7 separate regions of the Homo sapiens genome follow, and regions 2, 3, 4, 5, 6 and 7 are each linked to region 1. Evidence: promoter capture Hi-C in 16 types of primary human blood cells and fetal thymus (Javierre and others, 2016). All regions are on one chromosome and are shown on one strand. The core of a region is centred on a gene start or on the middle of the fragment in contact, and the rest is flanking DNA. Distances in the headings are between cores, read along the strand shown.

The links. The method cuts DNA at HindIII sites, captures the fragments that hold promoters and counts their contacts. A CHiCAGO score of 5 or more calls a contact.
Region 2: a fragment that was not itself captured here is called in contact with the fragment with the promoter of TMX3 in region 1 in 1 of 17 cell types (M2 macrophages); the score reaches 6.3 in M2 macrophages.
Region 3: a contact is called between a fragment that was not itself captured here and the fragment with the promoter of TMX3 in region 1, in 4 of 17 cell types (total CD4 T cells, naive CD8 T cells, M2 macrophages and 1 more). The highest score is 7.1, in total CD4 T cells.
Region 4: a fragment that was not itself captured here is called in contact with the fragment with the promoter of TMX3 in region 1 in 6 of 17 cell types (total CD4 T cells, M2 macrophages, naive CD4 T cells and 3 more); the score reaches 6.3 in total CD4 T cells.
Region 5: a fragment that was not itself captured here is called in contact with the fragment with the promoter of TMX3 in region 1 in 2 of 17 cell types (M0 macrophages and total CD8 T cells); the score reaches 8.3 in M0 macrophages.
Region 6: a contact is called between a fragment that was not itself captured here and the fragment with the promoter of TMX3 in region 1, in 1 of 17 cell types (naive CD8 T cells). The highest score is 8.4, in naive CD8 T cells.
Region 7: a contact is called between a fragment that was not itself captured here and the fragment with the promoter of TMX3 in region 1, in 5 of 17 cell types (activated CD4 T cells, non-activated CD4 T cells, M0 macrophages and 2 more). The highest score is 10.3, in activated CD4 T cells.

The regions. Positions count from the first base shown.
Region 1 is chr18:68,713,341-68,717,140 of GRCh38, reverse strand. TMX3 (thioredoxin related transmembrane protein 3) reads left to right here and starts at 2,033. Exons shown (of 16, transcript NM_019022.5): 1 at 2,033-2,205; 2 at 3,241-3,295. The coding sequence starts at 2,160. It also overlaps a transcript of CCDC102B not described here. RefSeq lists an enhancer at 1,706-1,775 and silencers at 1,976-2,105, 2,286-2,385. The HindIII fragment of the contact is 941 bases long and covers 1,553-2,493 here.
Region 2 is chr18:70,130,269-70,134,068 of GRCh38, reverse strand. The region is part of intron 23 of RTTN (rotatin); the gene reads left to right. Among named protein-coding and RNA genes, the nearest start is that of RTTN, 74 kb to the left of the region's middle. The HindIII fragment of the contact is 5,288 bases long and covers 1-3,800 here.
Region 3 is chr18:70,088,548-70,092,347 of GRCh38, reverse strand. It overlaps RTTN (rotatin), which reads left to right. Exons shown (of 49, transcript NM_173630.4): 30 at 128-238. Among named protein-coding and RNA genes, the nearest start is that of RTTN, 120 kb to the left of the region's middle. The HindIII fragment of the contact is 1,856 bases long and covers 516-2,371 here.
Region 4 is chr18:70,065,532-70,069,331 of GRCh38, reverse strand. It overlaps RTTN (rotatin), which reads left to right. Exons shown (of 49, transcript NM_173630.4): 35 at 3,410-3,503. Among named protein-coding and RNA genes, the nearest start is that of CD226, 120 kb to the right of the region's middle. The HindIII fragment of the contact is 341 bases long and covers 1,533-1,873 here.
Region 5 is chr18:70,024,458-70,028,257 of GRCh38, reverse strand. RTTN (rotatin) reads left to right here. Exons shown (of 49, transcript NM_173630.4): 44 at 3,410-3,536. Among named protein-coding and RNA genes, the nearest start is that of CD226, 78 kb to the right of the region's middle. RefSeq lists silencers at 3,142-3,201, 3,212-3,261. The HindIII fragment of the contact is 3,387 bases long and covers 290-3,676 here.
Region 6 is chr18:67,418,920-67,422,719 of GRCh38, reverse strand. No RefSeq gene overlaps it. Among named protein-coding and RNA genes, the nearest start is that of DSEL-AS1, 96 kb to the left of the region's middle. The HindIII fragment of the contact is 1,213 bases long and covers 1,791-3,003 here.
Region 7 is chr18:69,954,027-69,957,826 of GRCh38, reverse strand. It overlaps a transcript of CD226 not described here. Among named protein-coding and RNA genes, the nearest start is that of CD226, 8.1 kb to the right of the region's middle. The HindIII fragment of the contact is 1,345 bases long and covers 1,401-2,745 here.

The DNA.
Region 1 (3,800 bases), core at 784-3,283:
TCTGGAGTAGCTGGGACCACAGGTGTGTGCCACCACATCTGGCTAATTTTTTTTTTTTTTTTTTGAAACAGAGTCTTGCTCTGTCGCCCAGGCTGGAGTGCAGTGGCGCGATTTCAACTCACTGCAAGCTCGGCCTCTTGGGTTCATGCATTCTCCTGCCTCAGCCTCCCAAGTAGCTGGGACCACAGGTGTCTGCCACCACGCCCAGCTAATTCTCTGTATTCTTAGTAGAGACGGGGTTTCACTGTGTTAGCCAGGATGGTCTCGATCTCTTGACCTCGTGATCCACCTGCCTCGGCCTCCCAAAGTGCTGGGATTACAGGTGTAAGCCACCGCGCCAGGCCACATCTGGCTAATTTTTTAATTTTTTGTACAGATGGGGTCTCACTGTGTTGACCAGGCTGGTCTCAGACGCCTCACCTCAAGCAATCCTCCTGCCTCAGCCTCCCAAAGTGCTGGGATAATAGGCATGAGCCACCCATGCCTGGGACTTGATCAGTATTTAGATTTCATAAAATTTACAGTTGAAAAAGTAGATTCACATACCTCAGTTGTTCCAACCACATTAAAAAAACTTTCCAATAGCTGAATCGAGTGTCAGTTTTTGAGTTTACTGAAATTAAAAAAAATAAATATTCAGTTATTTCATCACACTAGGCACATTTCAAAAGCTCAATAGCCACATGTGGTTAGTGGCTACACTACTGAAAAGCACAGATCTAGGTCAACTGGCTTTTGTTGTTGTCCACATGTGAACTTAAACTGTAACGCAAATATAAGAGGAAATTATTTCACTTTGCATGCTGTGGAAGACAGAAAACTTTGAAATACATGAGAATGAAAAAAAAAAATTGAATATGGGTCATTCAGAGACCTTGCCAAGAAAGTAGAAAAGCTTCTGTATAAGAGTATCGAGGCGATGGTACTATTATAAAGCTGTTCCACCACCACCGGGAGAACATTCCCATCATTTCAACAGTCCCCTTACGTTTTAGTCTACTTTTTTCTTAAAAAAAAAAGAAAAAAAGGAAAAGAGAAAGAAAAAGAAAAATTGAATCTGTAGAGGGCTTGCGCTGGATACCATGCTGCATGCACAAAGGGGGTGACATTTAGGGCTTGCTCTCAATTAGAGTGCAATTTAATCTTCTAGTCACTAGGAATAACGACGTTTTATGACATTTTTGCCTGTTGGAATTTTGAACCTAAGGTGAACCGGCTGACATCATATCCCCCTTCTGTTGTTGTCACAGGTTTTCAAAATTTGGTTTGATCTAAATTCTCTGGTACCTTATGTCCCATAAAAATTTCATCTAGTTCGTAAGTAGTGATTGCTGCAGTAACCGTCTTATAAAAGTATATGGTTTTTACAAATCATTGTCGTATAGAAGAAAAAACAGGTAGCAATATAAATATTTCATACTACTTTATCTAGTTCCAAAATAATCAGAAAAGAGCCATCAAAAAATATCCTACGCTTAACTTCATGTTCTCAAGTTTCAAGAGAAAGTTTTTAAAGAGGCAATCCTTACTTTGGCAAAAATGCATTAAAGCTTGCTGCATTTAAGAGATGTCCCATTATGCAAACAGGTTGAAAGAATATTACAAATACGTTTTGGAAAAATACGGAGTGTCGCGCAGCTCAGCAATCCGCAGTCTTAATGCGCGCCTCTTTCCAGGAATTTGATCCAGCATCAAAACCCACAGGTGCACTCACCACACGGGAGTAACAAGTAAATGATGTGCCAGTATTCAACCTGCAAGTGCGTCGTCAGAGCCTACCTCACCCTCAGCATAACTTTCACCGGTATTCACCTTCCCGGAAACGCGCCCCAGTGAACCAGCACCGTTTTCCCTAGTAAAGCCCTTAAGCAGGGTTCCCACGCTCCTGGGCGTGGAGGGGGGCACCGAGAGCGCAAAGGATTCTTAAGACATGACTGCGCAGGCGCTGTCGCATGCGCCGCACTCCCCTCGCATGCGCCGCACTCCCGCGCATAGCCGGAGACGGAGACTGGCCGGGTAGCCCCGCCCCCGTAGTTAGCGCGGTGCTTCTCTTCCGCTCCGGGTCGGCTCCGTTTCCCTTTCCGGGCGGGCAGGCGGCGGACCCCAGTGTCTTTATCCCTCTTTTGCACAGTCAGCTTCTGCAGCTCTCCCGGGCTAGCATGGCAGCGTGGAAGAGTTGGACGGCCCTGCGGCTCTGCGCCACAGGTAATGGGGGCTCAGCGGTCGGGACGCTGGCGGGCGCGTGGGACCTGGCCCCGCCGTGGGGCCGGGATTGGACCCGGGTCTGGGGCGAGGCCTGCGGGGTTCGTGGAGATGCCCACCCATTCCCGGCAGCGTCCTGCCGCCCCCGCCGCGCCACCCTGCCTGGCCCTGACGGAGCGGACACCTTGGGGTCCTTCCGCCGCCGCTGTGCCGGACCAATGCTGGACGTGGGAAGGGCGCGCTGCCTTGTGTTTGTGTTTTTCTCATTGTGGCAGAAGTTTCAATAAAGCTTACTCCTTTGATGGGCAAGAAGGATGCCGCCGTCCCAGCTTAACGACCAAATCTTGCCTTGGCTTTAGGTTCCGAGTCTTGTCACGTTTAAGGATTTTTACCACCAGTACTCAAGAGAGGGTGGTCGAGGACAGATCAGGGTCAGGCCGCCGGGATTGTGCGGTGTGAAAAGGACCTGAGTGTGTGTCAGCGGTTCTCAGCTGCCTCCCGTCAGCATGGAGTGCCCTCATTCTCACTGGGGTCCGCTCACTTAACAACCTTTTAGAGCCCACTCTGTGTCAGGCACTGCCGTGTAATAAGTATTAGAGTTGCAGCTCGACTTTCTTCCTACGTATCTATTTGAGGGGAAATATTTTGAATGGCATTTGGAGTTTTTACGGAAGAGGTAATTGCTACTAAAGCAAAAGAAATAAAGAAGAATGCTGTCTATTTGTATTCCAAAAAGATAGGATGGTTAAAAAGAGACGTAAGATGAGAGTGAAAATATGGAGGAAAAAGGAACTGTGTGTATTAGATTTATTGGCTTACCTAGAACTTGGCCGGTCACGATATGGTTGCATACAGACTAAATATTTATTAAATGGATGAACTACCTTTGCTTTTGCATCATTTGCACCCTGGGATGCATCAGTGATGAATTTTTTGGTAGGTTGTGAAAGGTCAAAAACACTTCAGAGATGACTAAGCTTATACGGTATGAGCCAAATAATCAGCATTTATTGTGTACATTTTGTCTTTTTTTTTCAGTTGTTGTACTTGATATGGTCGTCTGTAAAGGATTTGTAGAAGATTTAGATGAATCGTGAGTATACATATATATATTTAAAATATTATTTTAACTGTCCAACTCAGATATCTGAATATTTGCATGTGATTCTAATATTTTAGATTGGAACCAATTTTTATATATCACTCATTTTTTTCACTTGTTGTAAGTGAAGGTGAGGGTGTGCCCAGAAGAGTTTTATTAATAGTTATGAGATCAAAAAACTGTGGCAAACTTTTACATATTCTTTTTTTCCTCATTATCTTACCTTGTATTTATGTCTTTTTCCTTTAATTATATTGAATGGGTGTTAGAATTTGGTAACTGTACTGTATTTATCTTCATAGTATGACAGCATTAATCAGCCTTGCTTATAGTAAGTGAGGAGGTTCACTTCAGACCCAAATTCCTGTGTGTGATCTTTCAGGCTTGACCATAGACAATTGCAAGGCTTTTTCTGGCATAGGGGAAGGTGCCCTCCCTACACCAAACTTGGTGTATAACCGGTGCATTACAGTCCCTGGAGGGAGTGGTAGTCAAG
Region 2 (3,800 bases), core at 381-2,880, 1.4 Mb before region 1:
TTAAGTTAAGGACATTATTCTACATAACTGCTACAATATGATCCCATCTAACAAGATTAAAAATAATTCTATAACATGGTGTGGTTTCTCCAGTTATCTCCAAGTATCTTTTGTGTATATTTTTTCAGAATGCAATAACCAGTTAAGGTTCTGCATTGTATTTGGTTTTCATGTCTCTTTAGACTTTTGTAAAAAGTAAATTGTTTTTATTGACATATATCGTACATAAAGCATACAAGTCATAAGGGTACAGCCCTTGAATTTTTCTGAGTAAACGTACTTATTTATCTCACACAGATTGACATAGAATATTACTGACAGACCGGAAACCCTTTTTGTGCTTTCTCATTACCTTCTACCACCCCAAAATGTAATCCTATTTTAATTTCTATTGCTGTACATTATTTTTGCTAGTTTTTGAACTTTATAAATAGAGTGCATTATTATATTGCTTTTTGCTCAACTTGGAGAGATTTGTCCATGTTGCTGCATGAAGCAATCAATAGTTGGTTCATTTTTATTCTATGTAGTATTCTGTCTAAGAATATACAACACTTTTATTTACCATTCTATTTGTGGATGTTTAATTTGTTTTCTGTTTTGGGCTATTATGAAGAAATGACTGCTAAGAACATTCTTGAACACGTGTCATTGTTGGAATATAGGATATTTATGTTTAGCTTTAGTAGATGTTACCAGACAGTATTACGAAGTTGTTGTGCTGATTTACATTCCTACCATCAGTGGAAAAGTACTAGCTGCCCCACATCCTCACTAGCCTTTGGTATTTGCATTACCAGTCTTAATGGTGTTTAGTTTGGCTAAATAATGAAACTCACACGACTGCAGTAGTCATGCTTAGAATGAGATCACATTTGTGGGTGCTGGGAGCTGTCTTGGCTTGGAAGCCTCATGTCCCAAATAGAAAATATGTTCTCTAGTAAGTGTGCTGTAGGCATAGTTTCCAGGTTGCTTATAAGAGCCACAGCACTCAAGATTGCTCAGAGCTGTGACATCCCATCATGCATTTATAGTTTATTCCTAGATGTCTCAGTCCAGATGTGGGGAGTCATTTTCATCATAAGCAAAGCAGCTTAGTAAATTCTTGACATTCCATATCTATCTGATTTTACTGGGTAAAGGGACAGAGAGTTACCTCAATATCATGTTTGTCCGTAAAGAGGAGAAAGGGTTTTATTACTCTTTTACTCACAGTAATGTTGGCATTTAAAAAATTGTTGCCCATCTGATGGATGTATAGTGTATCTCAAAGTGGTCCTGATGTATTACTCTTTGCTTTTTATTATTTTCTTCCTTCTGTGTTTTTCAAACTTAATTTTCTGTTCATTTTCTAACTTACTGGAGGATTGGCCATTGATTATTAGCCGCCCTTTCATTTAAAGCTATCAATGTTTCTAAGTATGGCTTTTGGTATATTCCACGAATTTGATATGCCATATTTTATTATTTAGTTCAAAATATTTTCTAAGTGTTTTGTGATTTTTTTTTATTGATGCAAGGGTTGTTTAGAGTTATTGGGGGTAACTAGTGAAGATTTAGTTTATTAGGTTTTCTAGTTATTTTATTATTAATATTTAGCTAAATATTGACATTAGAAAATATTTTCTATGATTTTAATTCTTTAGAGTTTGTTGAATTTTACTTTATGGCCCAGCATATGGTCAGCTTTTTAAAATGTTCCATGTGTACTTGAAAATAATAATGTATATGTAGTAGTTGTTGGATATACTGTTCTATAAGTCTCAAAATATATCAGGTTTATTGATAGTGTTCAGATCTTCCCTGTGTCTACTTTATTATATGTGTGTGAAGTTCTTTCAGGTAGCAGAGAGGCATGTTAAAATCTCCACTATGACATTGTCATTCTGGCTGACAATGTATTTTGAGGCCATGTAATTTAGTTTGTAAACATGCTGGTGGGTTGTCTCTATCATTATGAAATTATTTCTTTATCTCTAGCAGTGCTTCATCATATAGAATTCACTCGATCTCTTATGACTGTAGCTTCCCCAGCTTTTATTTGGTTAGTGGTTAGCATGATATGTATTTTTCCATCCTTGTAGTTTTAGCTGTTCTGTGTCCTTAAATGTACTTTTTTTTTTTAAGAAGTATATAGTTGAGTTTTTTTGTCCAATCTGACATTATTTACAGTTTTAATGGAATATTTTAATGCATTTTACATTTACTATAATTACTAATATTTTTGGATACAGATTATTAGCTTGCTATTTTCTATTTGTCCAATGTGGTTTTTTTCTTTCTTTTTCCTCTCTGGCTTTTCTTGATTAATTTTTAAAATTAGTCCATGTTTTCCAGCTGTTAACTTGTAGTTACATATACATTAAGTATTTTATTTATTTATTTATTTGTAGCGATTGGGATCTTGCTTTGTTGCCCAGGCTAGTCTTGAACTCCTGGCTTCAAGCAATTCTCCCACCTCAGCCTCCCAAAAGTGTTGGGATTACAGGCATGAGTCACTGTGCCCAGCTAAGTATTCTTCTATATACATTATTTCTATATATTTTATACAGATGATTATTCTTTTATAATATAGAGATTATAATTTACTTCCTTGACTGTGAACTAGTATTTTTACCACATCCCAGACAATGCAAGGACCTTAGAACACATTAATTCCATTTATTTGCTCTTCTTTTTTTTTTCTTTTATTGTCAGGTATTTAAATTCTATACATATTTTAAATTCTATAAGATGTTATTATAATTATTTTATGCAGTAAATAGTCATTTAGATTTGTATACCGTGGTCGTTTCTGTTACTTTTTATTGCTTTTTTGGTTTTTCTGCCTCCATCTGAGAATTTGTTTTTTTAAGAGTTTTTTATTATTTAATGTAGTGCACTTATATTAGCAATGATTTCTGTCAGGTTTTTTTTTTTTTTAATCTAAAAATTCTTTCTGTTTTAAAAAATGTTATCACTAGGTATAGAATTCTAGGTTGGCAGTTGGAGTCCATTTTTTTGTAGGAACATTGGCTGTCAGTTTTATTGTTGCTTCTTTGAAGGAACTGTGTTCCCCATTCTCTTAGGAGTTCCTTCAGCTATATCCCACAGCACTTTGCTTGCTTGCTTATTTATTTGGGGGAGTTTATTTTATTTTTATGGGTATATAATAGTACATATTTATGGAGTACATGTGATATTTTGATATAAGCATACAATGTATAATGATCAAATCAGAGTAATTAGGATGTCCATTACCTCTAACATTTATTGATTCTCTGTGTTAGGAACATTTCAGATCTGCTCTTCTAGTTATTTTGAAATATACAACAAATTACTGTTAACTATTTTTACCCTATTGTGCTACTGAACACTAGATCTTATTCCTTCTATCTAAATTTTTATGTACCCATTAGCCATCCCTTCTTAATTCCCCCCTTCCCCACCATCCTTTACAGCCTGTGGTAATCATCATTCTACTCTTTATCTCCATGAGATCATTTTTTTTTTTTTTTAGCTCCCACATATAAAGGAGAACATGTGATGTTTGTTTTTCTGTGCCTGGATTATTTCAGTTAACGTAATGACTTCCAGTTCCATCCATGTTGTTTCAAGTGACAGGATTTCATTCTTTTTTACATCTGAATGATACTCCATTGTGTATTTATACCACATTTTAAAAAATCCATTCATCTATTGATGGACACTTAGGTAGATTCCATATCTTGGTTATTGTGAATAGTGCTACAATAAACATGGGAGTGCATATATCTCTTTGACATACCAATTTCCTTTCTTTTGGATATATACCCAGCAGT
Region 3 (3,800 bases), core at 194-2,693, 1.4 Mb before region 1:
ATGGATTAAAACCAAGTCTAAAATACATTTTCACGTTGTTTTCATTAAAAATTCTTGTTTTAACCTTCCTGCATTTTATTTTTAGAAACTTACCTCAAATATTTCTGTTTCCCTTTTTTCCCTCTAGGAGTGGATGTCACTTTGGTTCTTGCCTTTGGGTAGTCATAGTGAAGAACATATTCCTACTCAACAAGGATTGGCTTGGTTGATTCCATTATGGGTTGATCGGGACCCAGAGGTGAGTGTGAAGGAGAATCAAGTGTATTGTGTTTAGATTAAAAAACAAATGACACGGGGCCAGGTGCGGTGGCTCATGCCTGTAATCCCAGCTTGTTGGGAGGCTGAGGTGGGCAGATCACGAGGTCAGGAGATTGAGACCATCCTGGCTAACACAGTGAAACCCCATCTCTACTAAAAATATAAAAAAATTAGCTGGGTGTGGTGGCAGGCACCTGTAGTCCCAGCTACTTGGGAGGCTGCAGCAGGAGAATGCTGTGAACTTGGGAGGTGAAGCTTGCAGTGAGCTGAGATTGTGCCACTGCACTCCAGCCTGGGCAACAGAGCAAGACTCCATCTCAAAAAAAAAAAAAAGACACAAAACATATATACATATACATAGTTATATTATGGGATTATTGTAGTGACTCTACCTTATGTTTTATTTAAGCCCTGTTTTAGCTTAGGCTGCCATAACAAAATACCACAGACTGGGTGGCTTAGACAACAGACACTTCTTTTCTCATAGAAGTTTTGGAAGCTGAAAGTCCAAGATCAGAGTGCCGGCATAGTCAAGTTCTGGTGAGGGCTCTTCTTCTGGCTTGTAGACGGCTGCCTTCTTGCTGTGTATTCACGTGGCCTTTCCTTGGTCCATGCATGTGGGGCAGGGGAGGGAGGGGTGGTATAGAGACAGATTTGTCTTTTTTTTTTTATTATAATGTTACCAGTCTTATTGAGATAGGACCACTCCCTTATGATCTCTTTAAACCTTAATTATCTCCTAGAAACCCTGTCTTCAAATGTAGTCACTTGAGCATAAAGACTTCAACATATGAGTTTTGGAGGGACGCAATTCAGTTCATAGTTTTCCATCCCTGAGCCCCTGAACTTCATGTTCTTCTTCCATGCAAAATGCTTTTATTCTCCCTCAACAACCTCAAAAGTCTTAACTTATTCCCAAATCAACTGTAAAGTCTAAAGTCCAAAATCTCATCTAAATGTCATTTAAACCACATCTGGGTAAGTCTCCAGATATAAACCCTCCTGAAACAGAATTCTTCTGCAGGTGTGAACCTGTGAACCCATACAAGTTATATGCTTCCAAAAGATGATGGTAGAATAGACATTCCCATTCCAAAAGAGAGAAATAGGAAAAAAAGGAAGAAGTGATGGGTCCCAAGCAAGTCCAAAGCCTAGCAAAGCAAATTTCATTAGATGTTAATGCTCAAGGATAATGTTCTTTGGCTTGATGGTGTGCCTTACAGGCCCACCAGAGTGACAGCATCTGTCTAGATGGCTCTGTGGGATGACCCCACCCCTTTGGCTGTCTTCAAGAGCCCCGCCCATAAAGCTGTCTTCAAGGGCAGCCATGTTCCTGAAGCACTGGGCAGGGTCATCATTCTGGCCCACAGAAATCAGAGGTCTTTGAAACCAAGGAGGAAAAGCCACCCTTGAGTCCTGTGGTGGGATTAGCAGCCTGGGGATCTCTGAATCATTTTTTGGGTCATTCTTTTCATTGAAGAATACAGTAGTCCTCCCTTATCAGAGGTTTCATTTTCCAAAAGCACCCTGAAGATCAGTAGTAGCCAAACCCTCCCTCACAATGCCTACATCATTCACCTCACCTCATCTCTTTATGTAATCATTGTATCATCTCACATCAATACAAGAAGGCTGAGTGCAATACAATAAGATATTTTGAGAGAGAGACCACATTTATGTATTTTGTATTATAACATATTGTTGTAATTGTTCTAGTTTATTTTTAGTTATTGTTAATCTCTTACTGTGCCTAATTTGTAAACTTTACCATAGATATGTATGTGTAGGAGAAAACATAGTAGTTATAGGGCTCAGCACTATCTGTGGTTTCAGGCATCTACTGGGGGTCTTGGAATGTATTCCCCATGGATAAGGGAGGGACCACTGTAGCACATATTTGCTTACAGAATCCAGGAAGTCCAACAGCTTTCCTTCATTCTCTGCATCTTTCTCTGTCCTCTTTAGTTCAAACTGGCAATGTCTTTGCTGATATAATCCCATCTCTATTCCTGGCTTCTGCTGAGATGTCTGATTAAGTCCATGAATTGCACCCGTGATCTTTTTCTTAAATGGGTATTCAGCCACACCCTCCATGTTCTCTTTAGAACAAGCTTTCTCATTTTTTTTGCACAGATAGGCTGAGAATTTTTCAAATCTTGTTCTTGTTTCTTTTTGCTTACCCATTCTTAATTCCTTCTTTAATTCATCTCTCTCCCTTTGCATTTTGCTATAAGCAATCAGGAGGAACCAAGCCAATTTTTCAACACTTTGCTTAGAAATCTTCTCAGCTAAATATCCAATTTCATTGCTCACAAGTTCTGCCTTTCACAAAACACTAGAACATGACCACAGCTTAACCAGTTTTCTTGCTACTTTATAACAAGGATTGCCTTTCCTCAAATAACCTTTTTTAAATAACACTTTCCTCATTTTTGTCTGAGATCTCATGAGAATTACCCATGTCTACGTTTCTGGCATCCACCTCAAAACTCTTCTAGCCTGTAACCCATTACCCAGTGCCAAAGTCACTTTCATGTGTTTAGGCATTTGTTTCAGCAGCATCCCCACTCCTTGGTACAAAAATCTGTATTAGTGTGCTCAGGCTTCCATAACAAAATACCATTGTCTGGGTGGCTTAAAAACAGAAATTTATTTCTTACAGTTATAGAGGCTGCAAGTCCAAGATCAGAGTGTCAACATGGTTGGTTTCTGGTAGGGCACTCTTCCTGATTTACAGAGGGCCACCTTCTCACTGTGTGCTCATATGACCTCTCCTTGGAGCACGCACATGGAGAAAGATTTCTCTCCTTCCTGAGGCCACCATTCCTAGTGCAGTAGGGTCCCACCCTTATAACCTCATTTAACTGTAATCACCTAATAGCTCTGTCTCCAAATACAGGTTGGGGATTAGGGCTTCAACATACGAGTCTTGAGGAGACACAGTTCAGTACACAGCACCCTCATTTTCAATCAAATTTGTTCGAGTATAGATTGAAAATATAAAAGAGAAAAGGTTATAGTATCTATTACCTTCAGAAGAGTGGAAAATTATTGGAGAAGCTTAGCAATTTTGAAAAAAATAAAAAGGATCTGGAAATTATAGACATGCAACACTTAAGTGTCATATAATGAAATTAAATTAAATGCAAAAAATTGCATTTGCATTACAATACAAAATTTTGTATTATTTCTTTCCAGTTTTAGCCAGTTTACTTTTTTCAAGTAAAATATGCTATTACAATAAAATCTTATTTATAGAAATATTTGAAATACATTTTTTAGTCACATTGAACTTGGACTTACTACTTGACAATTTTATGACTGCATTTTTAAAAAATTCTATAGCTGTCATTGAAACTATATTTTTGGATTCGAATTCAGAAATTTACCAAAACGTGTGGCTTGAACAGCAGTGGTTCTACAGCAAGCATATTATACCACATCAATCTTATTTGGGAACGTTTTTCTCTTGAATAACTTTTGAGGAAAATACGAAATGCCTTGTAAAATGATAATTGCCTCTTTGTTTAGAAGTTTTAAGA
Region 4 (3,800 bases), core at 454-2,953, 1.4 Mb before region 1:
AATAAAATTGTATATATTTGAGATATACAGTGAGATTACTTGACATATGTATATGTGATGAAATGATTACCACAGTCAAATTAGTTAACACATCTGTCACCTAAGAGTCAACCTTTTTTTTTTGTGGTGAGAACACTTAAGAACTACTCTCTTTCAAGTAGACTGTGCAGTGTTATTAACCATATTAACCATATTCACCATGCTACACATTAGACCATATTAACCATATTCACCATGCTACACATTAGATCCCCAGAACATACTCATCTTATCTGAAAGTTTGCACTCTTTGACCAAACATCTCCCCTTTTCCCCAGCTCCTATCCCCTAGCAACATCCATTACACTAATCTGAGTCTGTTTTAGGACAGTACCTTTAAGTAGCATCAGCCTGCTCTAAAAAGCTTGTATTGTCTTTTGTAATATCTGTAAAGTAATAAGGCTAGAAATATATTCAAATTCAGATTTTTTTGTCTTACCGAGGGATTATAAATTGAAGATCTCAGGATATGTCATGTGGCAGATGTGAAAGCGAGGGAAAAGTCTAGATTGTGATTTTGCACTTAGACCATTCTAATGAATTGAGCAAGTGATAGATACAAGAATTAGACTCTCGCTGTTGTAAGAGGACAACCCTAGTTATCCTACTTACTGTGAGGTACAGAGCAGAGCAGCGAGAAGCTTGACAGGAACGGATGACTTCAGCAGACTAAGTTTGCTCTTAAACTAAGCCAATTCCTCCTCCTTCACCTGGGATGGGGCAGCTGAAGTTAGTCTAGCTGAAGTTCCGCGGGGACACAGGGGGATCAGGGAGAAAGAAGCAAGCCTCTCCTCGCAAACAAGGCCAGCCAGCTTTCTCAAGAGGTACGTCTGAGGACTTCCTCTGATTCTAACGAATTTATGCTGTCATGAATGCAGTTCTGGACTGAGAATCCTAGTCTCAACTCAGACAAATCCCTTAACTTGTGGTCCTTTTCTCTAAATGAGGACGTGGACTAGGTCAGGCTTTTTGTACCTATAGCTTCGTAGGCTCATACTGCACCTTCCAGTAGCTAATACTTAATGCCAAAATTGTCTAGTTATTACTTGGATTTTAAGGTGAAAAGTAACATGTTTACATATCGATGTACTTTATCAAATGTAACCAAATACTATCGATTGGAGATTATATCTAAACAAGCAAAGATTTGAGCATAGAACTGGGACAATTTGCTTTAATACTTTTTTGCTTTTAGTTATTAAAATAGCAATATATTAGTTTAGCACACTTAAAAAATAGAGGCTAGTAGAAATATAAATCATCCATAATCAATTTTAAAGCACCATATAAAGCAATCATTGTGTTTCCCCAACCACATGGGGTAAGTTATAATACAATAAGGTACTTTCTAAAAGCATCTTTTCTAAACTTGTGTATCCCTTCTGTGGACTATACTAAGGAAAATCACATCTTTATTAATGCCTGACCTTTGTCATGAATCACAACTTTGCTTTCTTCTAATGAGCCAGGTATTTAGTGGGCCCTTATAAGCTTTCTTTTCCCACACCGATCGTTGAAACCGCAAACCAGGTACCTATTCTATTTATATCAGTAATAAGGCCTTCTTGAGTCTTTATCAGTTGAAAGAATGTTCAGTGAAATGATAAAGGATTTCAGCATCATTATCCCCTTAACTTTTCTTATACAACCAAAAGAGTTGTGGCAGGAGCCAGATATATTAGCTTGTGCATAGTTTGTGATATCAGTCTTGGCATAGGATTATTTTCTTCACAGAACTATAAATGTTGTCTTGATATCTGTTGACAGGAACATTTTTTCACATATCTCTCATTGCCAAATTGTAGGCAAATATATTTTTAAAAATAAACAAGCTTGCTGGGCGCGGTGGCTCACGCCTGTAATCCCAGCACTTTGGGAGGCAGAGGCGGGCGGATCACGAGGTCAGGAGATCGAGACCATCCTGGCTAACACAGTGAAACCCTGCCTCTACTAAAAATACAAAAAATTAGCCGGGCGTGGTGGCGGGCGCCTGTAGTCCCAGCTACTCGGGAGGCTGAGGCAGGAGAATGGCGTGAACCCGGGAGGCGGAGCTTGCAGTGAGCCGAGATCGTGCCACTGCACTCCAGCCTGGGCAACAGAGTGAGACTCCGTCTCAAAAAAAAAAAAAATAAACAAGCTTTAGGTTATTTTTACTTAGTATCTGGATCTAATACTATATAAAATAAGGCATTTGATGTTTGTTTATGATTGACTTATTTAGACTGAACTTTTTTCCAGATTTACTTTTTAGATTATGTGCTTAGCCTACATTTTTTAGCTGCAGCTTTCTCACTTATTTCTTGGCATCATGACTGTTATACTTACTTAATGTGGTGAAAGATGGTTAAGGGCTCAAGTTAAAAGGGGGATTTAAAAAACTGTATATTCCATTTTTAGTAATTTCTTCAAATTTATATTCTCTTTACTATTAGAAACTGCAAATGAAAATAACCTTAGTTTTTGCTTTCATTTCATCATGGTAATTCTAAGGTACTCTAAGTGTTAAGATATATACACAATCAATGTACAAATACTGTGAGCTATATAGGATCTGAGTCTGGAATGATGGTTTATAACTTCTATGGATAGCTAATGTTGTGTTGCATGTACTGATATGGAGGCTACCCAGGTATGGGCACTTCATGTTACTTCACAGAAGAGAAATTGATGGTAAGGAAAAGAGTTATCTGACCTCACCACATAAGTGTTTTTCAACTAAGAGGTGCTTAGTTGAACACCTCTTAGCGCAAACACATCACTTTGCGCTTTTTCAGTCTTAGAAGGTCGGTCTGCTCATTATAAACCTGTAGGTGAAATTGTACTTGCTTTCCACGGATTTTGTTATATTTAATGTTGTATTCTGAAGCAATCTCAGCAAACTGGCACAATTTTTTAGTGTTCTTCCTTGATAGGAGGTGAGGTAGAGAAAAATCTTTTAATACTTCTAATTTTTTAGGCACTATTAAAATTTATATGTGCCATTTGGAACATTAAAAATATCTTTATTGTCAATCAAGAAATGCAAAATATCACAATAAATTATAGTTAAGGTGGTATATTTTAGCCTTTCTAACATTTGGGCAATGAGGGAATTGGCCTTATGGGAACCTTAAACTCCTAAATGGGCCTGAAGTCAATACTGCTCCTTTGAGTTACTGATTTATGTAAATGATAACAATTCCTTTAAGAAGTGGAAATGCCATTTAAAAAAACTGCTGTAACTCCCAAGATATGGAATCTTTTCTAGTTATCCTAACTAGTATAATTTTGTCTTAAACCTCCTTGTTTAAGGATATCTTGTGTGTATGTTGCCTGTGTTTCATTTTCCGTACTGTAACATTAATAAGTAAAATAATTTACTGATTCATAGGTGGCACCTTCATTGGGGAGTACTGAATTTCAGCCACTTGTGCAGTCAACAACACTTCTACCTGAAGCCTCCCATGACCAGTTTGTGGCTCAAGGTATCCTTTTAGTGAAGACATTCTACCTTCAAAAAGAAAAATGACAAGTTGGTCCAGACAGATATTTTGAAAGTAAATGTCTAAAGAACAAAATTTTAATGAAATAAGTTGTAGACCATTATGAAATACATTTAGAACCAATATATCAGAAATTAATAAAATAAATGCTCTTAACTAATAAATGGAATTTGGCTCTTAAATAAATAGTCCAATTCCTGTGTGGCTCCTTATTAGGCGCTCGTAGGTATTTGACATTTGAATTTGGGAACTGATGGGTATAACTTAACTTTATTTTTT
Region 5 (3,800 bases), core at 734-3,233, 1.3 Mb before region 1:
GACCATTTACATGGCCCTTCTGTCTAAAAATCACTGAGATGTTTTGCTTCGTCTGTAAGCACTGATGATGTTTTAAACCATTGTATCAGTACTACTATAGAGGATATAATCTTGTGAACACTCTGATTTGCTTTGTCTATAGTTTTACAACACTTTTGAAATACTAGATTGATGCTTTAATGCAGAAATACTAGATTATTCTTTATAAAAGCTGGCCACGAAAATAAAAATTTTAAAAAATACTAAATTAAAGCTTTAATATAGAAAGCAAAGATAAATTATGGAAGCTTTTATTGCCTTATAAATTTTTACCTGTTTTGCTCTTACTTGTGGTAAGAGCACAACTGGAAAAACCATACCACATCTGGAAAATGGACATGTTGAACACACTTACTCCTTAAGCGATGTTAAAAAGCCAGATACATGACTCACAATTTATATTTCAAAGTAGTTTGATGGAAATTAAGTATTTATTTATACAATTTATTAAAATTCCCTATATATGAATTTATATGAACTTTTTCTCAAGACAAAAGTGCCATTAATAAACTTAATGATTCCTTCATGCTTATGATATTATGCTTGTGACTGGATGTACAGTCAGTATTTGTGTGTAAATTTAAATATATAAATTTCATGTGTATGTGCAGTTAATATTCATTCATGACACCTTATTCAGGGAAATACTCTGGAATACTTTACATGTGGGATCTACCTATAAAGATTTATGAAGTGCTAACCTGGCTACTAGTTATAAATATTGTGCTCAATTTGTATCACATTAGCCATTTACAAAAGTGTGATATCTCAATAAGTCAAAGCATTTCTGTATTTCTAAGTTGTTTAATAAGAAGTAAATCCAAAGAATATTAAGATTATCCTTGAGTATAAATATAATATTATGGAGGTAGGGATTGTTAATTTCAATTTCAGCTTTTATCAGGTGTATGGCATGTTCTCATTATTAATAGTTGGCCACTATTGGGTAATTCACCAGGTCACCCACTGCCACCCCACCCTGCTGTTTGCATATGCATAACATTAGGGGTTTTCATACTGGAAGGAGCATGGTGGCTGTGAGGTAAATGAATTAAACAGTGGACAAGGTTAGACGGAGGGGACTGTCATAGTCCAGACAAGAGATGATGACACCTTAACTTGAGCAGGTAGAAAGGAGAAGGAGGGTAGGGAGTAAATTTGAGGCATTGAGAAGAGGAGGAATGTAGAATGACTTCCAAACTCCAGTTTAAGCCACTGCATTATCATGCATTAAGAGTGCATGATAGAGCAGAGCACAGGTGTGAGAGACCCGATATTCATGCTTGCACGTGCTAGCCTCAAGAGTCTTTGGGGCATCCAGGTGAAAAATGGCTTGTGGCCTGTAGATTTTATGGGTCTGGGACTCTAAGGAGTGATACAAGCTGGGGATATTAGGAGTTATCAATGTGTAGATGGTGTTTGTGGTCCTCACTATTGTTGAAATTTCCCAAGAAAGTATGTAATGAAAACCAAGGTCATATCTTTGGAAAACAGGAACATTTAAGAGGGGGCAGAAAACAACTGAGAAGGGAATACTGGAGAAGGAATTTGGAGATTGCATTAGGCCGTTCTTGCCTTGCTATGAAGAAATATCTGAGACTAGGTAATTTATTAAAGAAAAGAGGTTTAATTGGCTCACAGTTCTGCAGGGTATAGAGGAAGCACAGTGGCGTCTGCTTCTGGGGAGGCCTCAGGAAACTTCCAATCATGACAAGAAGGCAAAAGGGGAACAGGCACATCACATTACTAGAACTGGAGCAAGAGTGAGAGAGCTGGCGAGGAGGTACCACACACTTTTAAATGACCAGATCTCATGAGATCACTCACTGTCTTGAGGAAAGCACCAAGCCATGAGGAATCCGCCCCCAAGATATAAACACCTCCCACCAGGCCTCACCTCTAGCACTGGGGATTACAATTCAACATGAGATTTGGGCAGGGACAAATATCCAGACTCTTATCAGAAATGATCCAGGATAGAGCAGCAGCGGGGAAATTAAGAGACATATAGCAAATGCCACCGTGCTTAAGCGTTGTTGGCAACCACAAAAGTAGAAGCGGCCTCAATAGAATCATCAGGGCAGAAAATAAACGGTAATGAGCTAAAGATTAAATGTGAGGCAGGGAAATTACAGCAATAATAATGTAGAAGTTTGGTCATGAATAGTGGCATTAATAATTTAGGACATATAAGATGAAAGGAAATGAGTATGTTTGTTTCTCTTAACACGTAAACTACTTGAATACAGGCACAGAAATGAGCAAATTGGGGACGAGTTGTTTAAGAGATAGCAAGAGGAGAACTAACTGGTGGATTAAGATCCCTGAGGAGGCAGGAAGAGCTGTGTTTCAGAACACAGATGGATGTATCAATCTCTGGCAGGCAAGAAGTGGAACACCTCTTTGTCACTACCGGGCAGACAGGAAGGATGAATGGATGAAAATACAGATAAACTATGTGGACAGAATGGCAGAGTAGATAAAGGAGTTTGTACTTAATCGTTTCTGTCTTCTCTGTGAAATAGTAAACAAGGTCATCTGCTGCAGATGGAGGGCCGTGTGCCACAGAGAGTGGTGAACAAGGGAAGAACTTTAGGGAGAGCACTGGGAATGACTTCAGTGCTTACGGAGAGTGTTGAACATTGGGAATCACTTCTCTTCTGCCACTTGATGCTATGTGAAATCGTATAGGGTGTGTGTATTTATGTGCATGCTCACGTGCATAATCATGGGTCTACAAATTACCTCGGAATTCTTGTTCATTTAAAATAGATATTGCTGCACTTAAACAGCTATATTTTATCTGCAATATTGTCCCAGGGTAACTGATCTTTGTAATAAAGACTCTGAGTTACTTCAGAATTTTTCAATTTATCATAATATTTAGACTGAATTTTATATATTCAAATTACTCAAAAACTGTAATTTACTTTGAGTATATACACACATACACAGAGAGAGAGAAGGAGAGGGAGAGAGGGTGGGCAAAGAGGACTCAGAGTTGATCAGAATGTTTACTTAACCAGAAATTCTCACTTCTTGGCCAGTTCATAGCATTTACAGGAATTTATTCAGTGTTGTGAGATATCACTTTGCTGTTTAATTTACATGTTACACAGGCTATTTTCTATGCTTCCTAACTTAGTGGTACATCTTAACCACCCTGGTGTTGAAGCGACGTCCTGAGATTGGTCAGGCTCGTGGTCAGGGCAGCCATGTGTGGAGCCCAATGGGGCTGGGGCAGGATGCTGAAGCCATCCACAGGGTTCTCCTTGGGTCTTATGTTGATGGCTTTCTGTTGTTGTTTTGATTTTAATGTTATATTTTCATATATTCAGACTAATGCTGTCTTTTTCCCTTCCTTCAACAGGAAGCAGCTCTTGAAGCTCACCTTGTCCCTGTCTTGCACTCTCTCTGGCCTTGGATTTTGATGGATGATTCATTGATGCAAATTTCTCTGCAGCTCCTTTGTGTCTATACTGCAAATTTTCCAAATGGTAATAGGATCCAATACTGCCTTTCAATAATATACCAAAATACTAGTTTTATAAATGTTGTTAAGGTGGACTGGAAAAACTAATACATATTTTGAAGTATTTCTCTGATTTATTGAGGATATGATGGGCAAAGGCAAGCTTTCTCGTAGGTATTATGAGAGCAGACAGATATTTTAGTGTGTTTGTTGACATGAGAGAGTCATTGGCAGCGCAGGGAATAGAGAGGGAGGACTGGTCTGATTATCTGGCAATGGGAAATTGAGT
Region 6 (3,800 bases), core at 1,148-3,647, 1.3 Mb after region 1:
AAGTATTCTGTATGGTACCGTAATGGTGGATTCATGTTCGTAGAGATTTGTCCAAACTCATAAAATGTACAATATCAAGAGTGGAACCCTAATGTAAATAATGGACTCTGGGTGATGATGTAGGTAAATATAGGTTCATGGATTGTAGCAAATGTTATACTGTGGTTTGGGATGTCTACATGCGAGGTTGTGAGTGTGGAGACCGTGGTATATGGGAACTCTTTGTACTTTCTGCTTAATCTTTCTGTACACATAAAGCCACCCTAAACATTATGAATTAAAAATGATTATGTATATACAGGAAAGTAAGCATGTTAGAGTTACTGATGTATACATTATAACAAAATTTATAGAGTTAATAGGAATGATGGTATTATAATACTCACAGATGAATTATAAGACATCCAAACAGGGCTAAACATTTTAGTTGTATTATTTTAACTGATAATTTCAACCTCATAAATAGATATGTAGTTCCTTTGTAGTTTTATCAGTGAGGAAATTGAGACTTAGAAGGTGAAGTATCCAAAGCCACCTAACATGTAAGTAGTACCTCTGGGATTTGAATTTAGTTGCACCCCTGAGTCTAAGCTATTTCCTCTTTGTCTTGTACACCTAAGCAAAATTTTAGGACATGGTGACAAAGTTGAAGTGTTGGAATACATATTTTTGGAATAACTAAGATAAATGTGTGAATTAAAGTCAGCACTTTATCTCAAAATATCAGTGAAATAACAAAGAGATTCAATATAAACTGAGAAACAAATGACACTAATATAGATTTATATACTTATGAAATTTGTAAGGCTTTTTTTTTTCAAGTCTAAGGATGAAAGCAGAAACTAAAGAAAATACCAATAGATATGACTCATGCAAAGGATAAGAAGCTTACATAAAGAACGACACTAAAATTAAAAAGGAAAAAAAAGTCTTGAAAAATTATTGCAACATATACAAAATAATTCATATAGTTAATTCTTTAAGACTTTTAAAACTGATGAGAAAATATCTTCCCAATAGGAAACTGTAAAAGTACCAGAAAAGGCATATTCCAATAAAGTCATGGAAATGGCCGCTGAGTGTACTTAAAAAAAAAAAAAAAGATCAGTTTACTAAGTCATAAAATAAGTGCACATAGCACAGTCACTAAAAATATTTCACCTATCTAGTTGACAAAAATAAAAATAAGTGTTAATTTTTAGTTTTGATTAAGAGTTGAGGAGAATGGCCCTTAGTGTACACTGTGTAAATTGATACAAACTTTAACCCAATAAGAAATTATTGGGTACAATATGAATTATTTGGCTGATGAATATGCTAAAAGCTCTGACTTCACCACTACATGATCTATGCATGTAACAAAATTGCACTTGTACCCCATAAATTTATGTAATGAAAAAAAAAGAAAAACAATTTGAAATCTCTTATCAAAAGCTTTAAAAATGAGGCCAGGCATGATGGCTCACACCTGTAATCCCAGTACTTTGGGAGGCCGGGGCGGGCAGATCACCTGAGATCAGGAGTTCGAGGCCAGCCTGGTCAACATGGTGAAACCCTGTCTCTACTAAAAATACAAAAAATAGCCGGGCGTGATGGTGGTCTTCTGTAATCCCAGCCACTGAGGAGGCTGAGGCAGGAGAATCGCTTGAACCTGGGAGGCAGAGGTTGCAGTGAGCCGAGATCGTGCCACTGTAAGCCAGCCTGGGCGACAAAGTGAGACTCCATCTCAAAAAAAAAAAAAAAACCTTTAAAAATAAGCATATGGTTCTACTCCTAAATTTCTAAAAGCTTATCCTAGGAAATGTATATGAAACAATTTTACAAAGGTTTAGCTCTTGTAGCATTATTGTAAGACTAAAAAAAAATATATAATTGATATGGATAGATTAAATATTCAATAATTAGAGAAATATAATTTATTATAATTTTTATTGTATAAAGTGTTAGGAAAATAATTATGTTACCAGGAATATGTAATTACTATTCCTTTTTTGTAAAACAAAAAATACTAAAATCTAAATACTGTTCTTCTTGGGTTTGAGATTATATATGTGAAGTTTATCTTTTTGTTTCCTGATATGCACATTTTTTTCTCCCTAAGTTAAGCATGTACTACTTTTGTATTAAGTAATTCTGCTATTTATAATTTTAAGTAGTTTTATCTGGCTTAGCTCTTGAGAAGCTACGTGAGATCCCTTGAAAAGTTTTAGGTACTCACAGAGAAACTGATATTAAAGAAAAAAAAAATTCATGACCCAGAGATGCTGCTTCGCATTCCATGTGAGAAAATGGAAAAAAAAATGCTGAATTATGAGAATTTGGTGAGGTCAATAATATCAACAGGAAAAAATCCGTCATGATTTCAATCCTGATACAGTTTGGGTATGTGTCCCCTTTAAATCTCATGTTGCATTTCACTCTCCAGTTTTGGAGTGGAACCTGGTGGGAGGTGACTGGATCATGGGGGTAGATTTCTCACGAATGGTTTAGGGCCATTCTCTTGATGCTGTCCTTGGTGATACTGATGAGTTCTCACGAGGTCTGGGTGTTTAAAAGTGTGTGGCACCTCCCCCACTTCTCTTGCTCCTGCTTTGGCCATGTGACGTGCCTGCTTCCCCTTCACCTTCTGCCATGAGTAAAAGCTCCTTGAGGCCCAGCAGCCCAGAATCCCAGCAGCACCATGCTTGTACAGCCTGCAGAACCATGAGCCAATCGTACCTCTCTTCTTTATAAAGAAATTACCCAGTCTCAGGTATTTATCTTGCAACAACAGCCTAATCTAAATCCTAATGAATATATTTTGTCAATCAAATTTGAGGTATAGAAGCTACAATACCATAATATAATATGCATGGTGAAAATTACTTCACATCAATAGGATAATAGCTGAAGATACCTCAAATTAAATATTTGCATCTAAACAATATCATAGATTTGGGTAAATAGAATACTAGAATATGACAAATAAGCCAATGTATCAATAGAAATTAAGTGTGTCAAGCTTTATTCAAGAGTACTTAGATTAGAAACAAGCAAGCAAACAAACAAACAAACAGCAGCAGAGTTCATAAAAACCCTGGGATTCTACACATTCAAGAATAGTCTTGCTGCTTCATCTTATCACTGATGTTAATTAGGTGCCAATTACTCTGCTCATTCCTATTTAAACCTAGGTTTCATCAAATACTGATTTATGCCACCTGCAGCCTAAATCAAGCAATTCTCTGGCAGCAATCAAGCTTCTGTCTTTTCAAATTCAAAACAATTATTTCTGCACTAGAAATAGCTGTTTAGGACAGGGCTGGCAATAGGGTGAAGCAAATGAGCTGGTCACCTTGACTACCAAATTTTAGGGGCATCAAAAAACTCAGAAATCAAGATAAATGATATATCAATGCAATTTAAAAAATTTAAATTAATGCAAATATCTATACTGAACAAAAAAAATCAAGATTTTCTATAAATTACCTGATTATAATTTATTATAAAGCGGGTAACAAAAATCTGTTACTAAAATTAAGTTGATTGGTGAACAAATGGCAAAATTAGCAATTTGGCTTCAGTGTTTTATACCAATGTCTTCAAAATCTTCTGTAATTTAACTTTTTAAAACTTGACTTTATGAAAGTTTTAAGAATAAAAAGCAAATGCTTGAGAGACATGTCTAAGCCATTAGTTGGTTGATCAGAGTAATAATTCAACAAATTAATTATTTGACAAGGAAGGACAAGTTTCAAAATCTTCCACAAACTATAATGAAAATGAGACTGACCACCATCTGTCAATCAGTTCACCAAGTG
Region 7 (3,800 bases), core at 824-3,323, 1.2 Mb before region 1:
AGAGTCAGGCAGGTGTTTGAGAAGGCTACTCTGGCTACCTCTGGCCCACAATAAGTCTTAGTAAACACTTGTGTCTTGAGAGGCAGTATTGCACTTTCTTCTCCCTTGCTTTCGTATATGCGGTGGTCCAGCAGAAGAGACCAGTCCTGTACCTGCGATGCATAATTAAATGTGCAGGGTAGGGCAGCCCCATGAGTGCCTTCTCACCTGTCAAACGTCCTTCCTTCCTAGTCTTTCTATGAATTTTACACACTAAAGCCTCAGCCACAATCCTTCATGGTGGTTTAACCAGCAGGGAACCTCCATAACCTAATAAATCAAAGGAATCAATAAAACTAACGTTGCCATGGCCTGGTGCAGCAAAAAACCTAGTGTTTCTAAGAGACAAAAGCTGCTAAACATGCAGGGTTCGTTCTCAGGAAACACCGACTTGTGTACTTTTTCTGTCGGAGAATGGGAGACAAAGAAAAAAAAAAGAGTATCTAGAAAGTAAGACCGAAACATACTTAGATATGGGCAGAGATAAGGAAGCCTCTTGACTTAAAAAGAGGGCTGAATCTAATGTGCTTTGATTGGCAGGAAAAAACACGAGGAAGAAAAGGCAAAGAAACAAACTGATTTCGGCGGGGAGTGTAGTTTCTATTTAGAGCTAGAACAAAGGAGAAGTGCGTCCTTTCAAATTATAGATTCTTTGGGGGAAAAGAGGGACAGAACTTTATCTGAGTTTGGAATGAGTCTGAGTAGCTGCAATAGTAAAGTTGCTTCCAGAAGCAGGTAAACTTGACTTCAAAAAACCCCGCTTCATGAAATATTAGTGATTCACTTCAGTTGCTATCTGAGGAAGTTCTGGTAGAGAGAAGAGCTCAAGAGCATGGGCAGAGTCAGCTCCTGAGTGGGCTGAACGCTCCCCTCAGCTCCTGCAGTGCTAATTAAGGGAGGGAGCAGCGGGGAGCTTGCAGTGACCAAGAGGGTGTTGAGGCTAGGAGGCCACGATAAACAGGATACGATAAAAGTCCTTAACCAAGACGCAGATGGGAAGAAGCGTTAGAGCGAGCAGCACTCACATCTCAAGGTTAGTAACCTTCTCAGAAAAAAGACTGGATGTGTCTGAGCTCAACTTTTTAAATGAATCGTGTGCGAAAGGGTGGGGGCTGCCAGTGAAACCATGGCAAGTTGATGCAGCAGGACAAGAGAGTTGCCGGAAAAAGCTGGAGTAAGTTAAGTGCTCGGTGTTCTGTGAACTGTTAGTTTAATGAGGGGTGCAGTTTGTAGTAAAAGGGTGCCAGTTAAGTACTTTTTCTCAGTCTGTCTCTAGAATTGTATTTATAATAGATCTGATCGTAAAGTTCTTGAGAATAAGAAAACTGAGCTAATTTTACCGGCATCTGGTCTGTCAAGCTTAAATCTTCCTTCTCTCCAGCAAGACTGAACAAGGATGAACTTAAATAATAAATGTCCATGATCCAAAGATTTATTATCCTACTCAAGGGTTGGGAAACTTTTTCTGTAAAGGGCCAGATAGTTAATATTTACAGCTTTGTGGGCCGTGTGGTGTCTGTCAGTTGTGACCTAACACCTCTTGGTTCCAGCATTGCAGCACAAAAACAGCGGTGGATGGTATGTAACCAAGTGAGCATGGCTGTCTCCAACCAAACTGTTTATGGAAATCAGTGGGCTGCGCCCAGCCCTCAGGCCATAGTTTCAGAACCCTGTCTTAGAGGATCCCTGCTGAACCCCAACTGGAGTCTTTGCGTTGACTGGAAGTGGGGTTCTACTGGTCACTCAGCAGTAGCCTCACTCCTGGGGACATGTGTATGACTTGCCAAGGTTCTAAGGGTATCGTGGTCTAGAGGAGACCATGTGGCCCACATTGGAAAGGTTCTCTTAATGAGATTATTTGAGGAAGGGAGCAGAAACCCAGACTATTGTGTTCCTGAGGAAATTTTTTTTTTTTTTTTTTTTTTGAGATGGAGTCTCGCTCCTTTGCCCAGGCTGGAGTGCAGTGGTGCGATGTCGGCTCACTGCAAGCTCTGCCTCCTGGGTTCACGCCATTCTCCTGCCTCAGCCTCCTGAGTAGCTGGGACTACAGGTGCCCGCTACCACACCCGGCTAATTTTTTGTATTTTTAGCAGAGACGTGGTTTCACCGTGTTAGCCACGATGGTCTCGATCTCCTGACCTCATGATCCGCCCGCCTCGGCCTTCACTTTGGGATTACAGGCGTGAGCCACCGCACCCGGCCTCCTGTGGAAATCTTACTGGAAGTATGAGCCTCTTAACAGCTGGGGCATCCCAGCAGAAGGCAGGCAAACCCTCGCATCTGAGAAGGAGTGGAGGGAGCAAACGACCTCTCACACTATAATCTTCCCAGCCCCAGTCACTTGTTCTGAGTTTAGCTAGATTTTCTGTTCACAGTCCTCTGCTTTCCAGCATGTGAATAGTTTTCCAAGCAAGTGTCGAAAGGTATCAGAGCAGATTCTCCATCACACACATCAGGTGTTTTTGCATAAACTGGGGAAGGTGGGGTCATTGAGTAGACACTAGGAGACTCCTCCCAATGCTCAGAAACCATAGAGACATCTGGGGAAGCAGGACATATTGTAGGTAGCAGAAACAATGAAACTGAGGTGACAGGGAAGGTTCTACCTGGGTGGACAGCCTACAGGAAGAAGAACAGTGTGGCTGAAGAGTGTTCCCCGTCCCCACCCACCCAGGCCACCTAGGAGTCTGCATTCAGAGGCAAGCTTGTGAGATGAATTCATGCTCATGTGGTTAGCTGAGACATTTTTAATAGTAGAGAAATCCAGTAATATTTTGATTAATGACTTCCTTGAGGACAAAGCTCTTTTATACAGACAGCTCTATTAGAAAAAAAACCTCAAGCCAAAATCCCTTCATAAATCATGCAAAAAATGGCTGCTGACACAACAAAAATAGCTCAAGCGCTGTCTCTATTTGTCTTTGGTTAGATGTTGATAAATAGGGCTCATCTCTAGCAAAGTCGTAACAGCTGGACTTTGTCTTCAGCTGCAAGTCTTTCTGCCCCTTTCATTCGAATCTGTGACCTCTAGGACCCTCAATTCCAGGGTGCAAATACACAAGTTCTCTTCATCTCTTGACTAGTTGGCTCTGGATGCCTTGGGAATAAGGAGTTCCTACAAGTTATTACCAGTTAGTACCCCTTTTCCAGTCCTCCTCCCATGAACCTCATTTCTTTATCCTGGGTGAGGAAGTTCACTTTGGGCCTGATCATAGAAACCACCGAGAGTGGATGATGCTAGGTTTCATCTCATTTCCTTTAGGATTTGAGGCAGCACGGTGTTGCAGATGCCTGCTTGGCCCTCAGCCCTTCTACCTCTCTACCTGCACCTCTACCCCACTTTACCCAACCCTGACCCCTCCCTCAGAAAATAGATATGTTTTGGCATTTGTTTAATAAGCACATAATGATTTTTAAAAATATCTTAAATCATTTATCTGACAACCTCGACTATCATGATCTTTTGCATTATTGATTTCCAGCTGTTATCACAAAGTTGTGACAGAGTGTGTCTGTGGACTCTATGCTTAGACTGTACTATGCTAATGTACTGTATTCTTAGAATGTACTTGGCATCTTTGGACCGGGGTGGTTGGGGGATCAAATGAAATCAATTAATACGTGGCCAACAGCAAGATGGGGTGGCCTCATTCATTGGTAAGACCTGGGGTGAATGTGGACTCATACTATTCACTAGTAACAATTTTTAAAAATTGAGGTGAAATTCACATAACATTGTTCACCTAAGATTTAGTCAACAT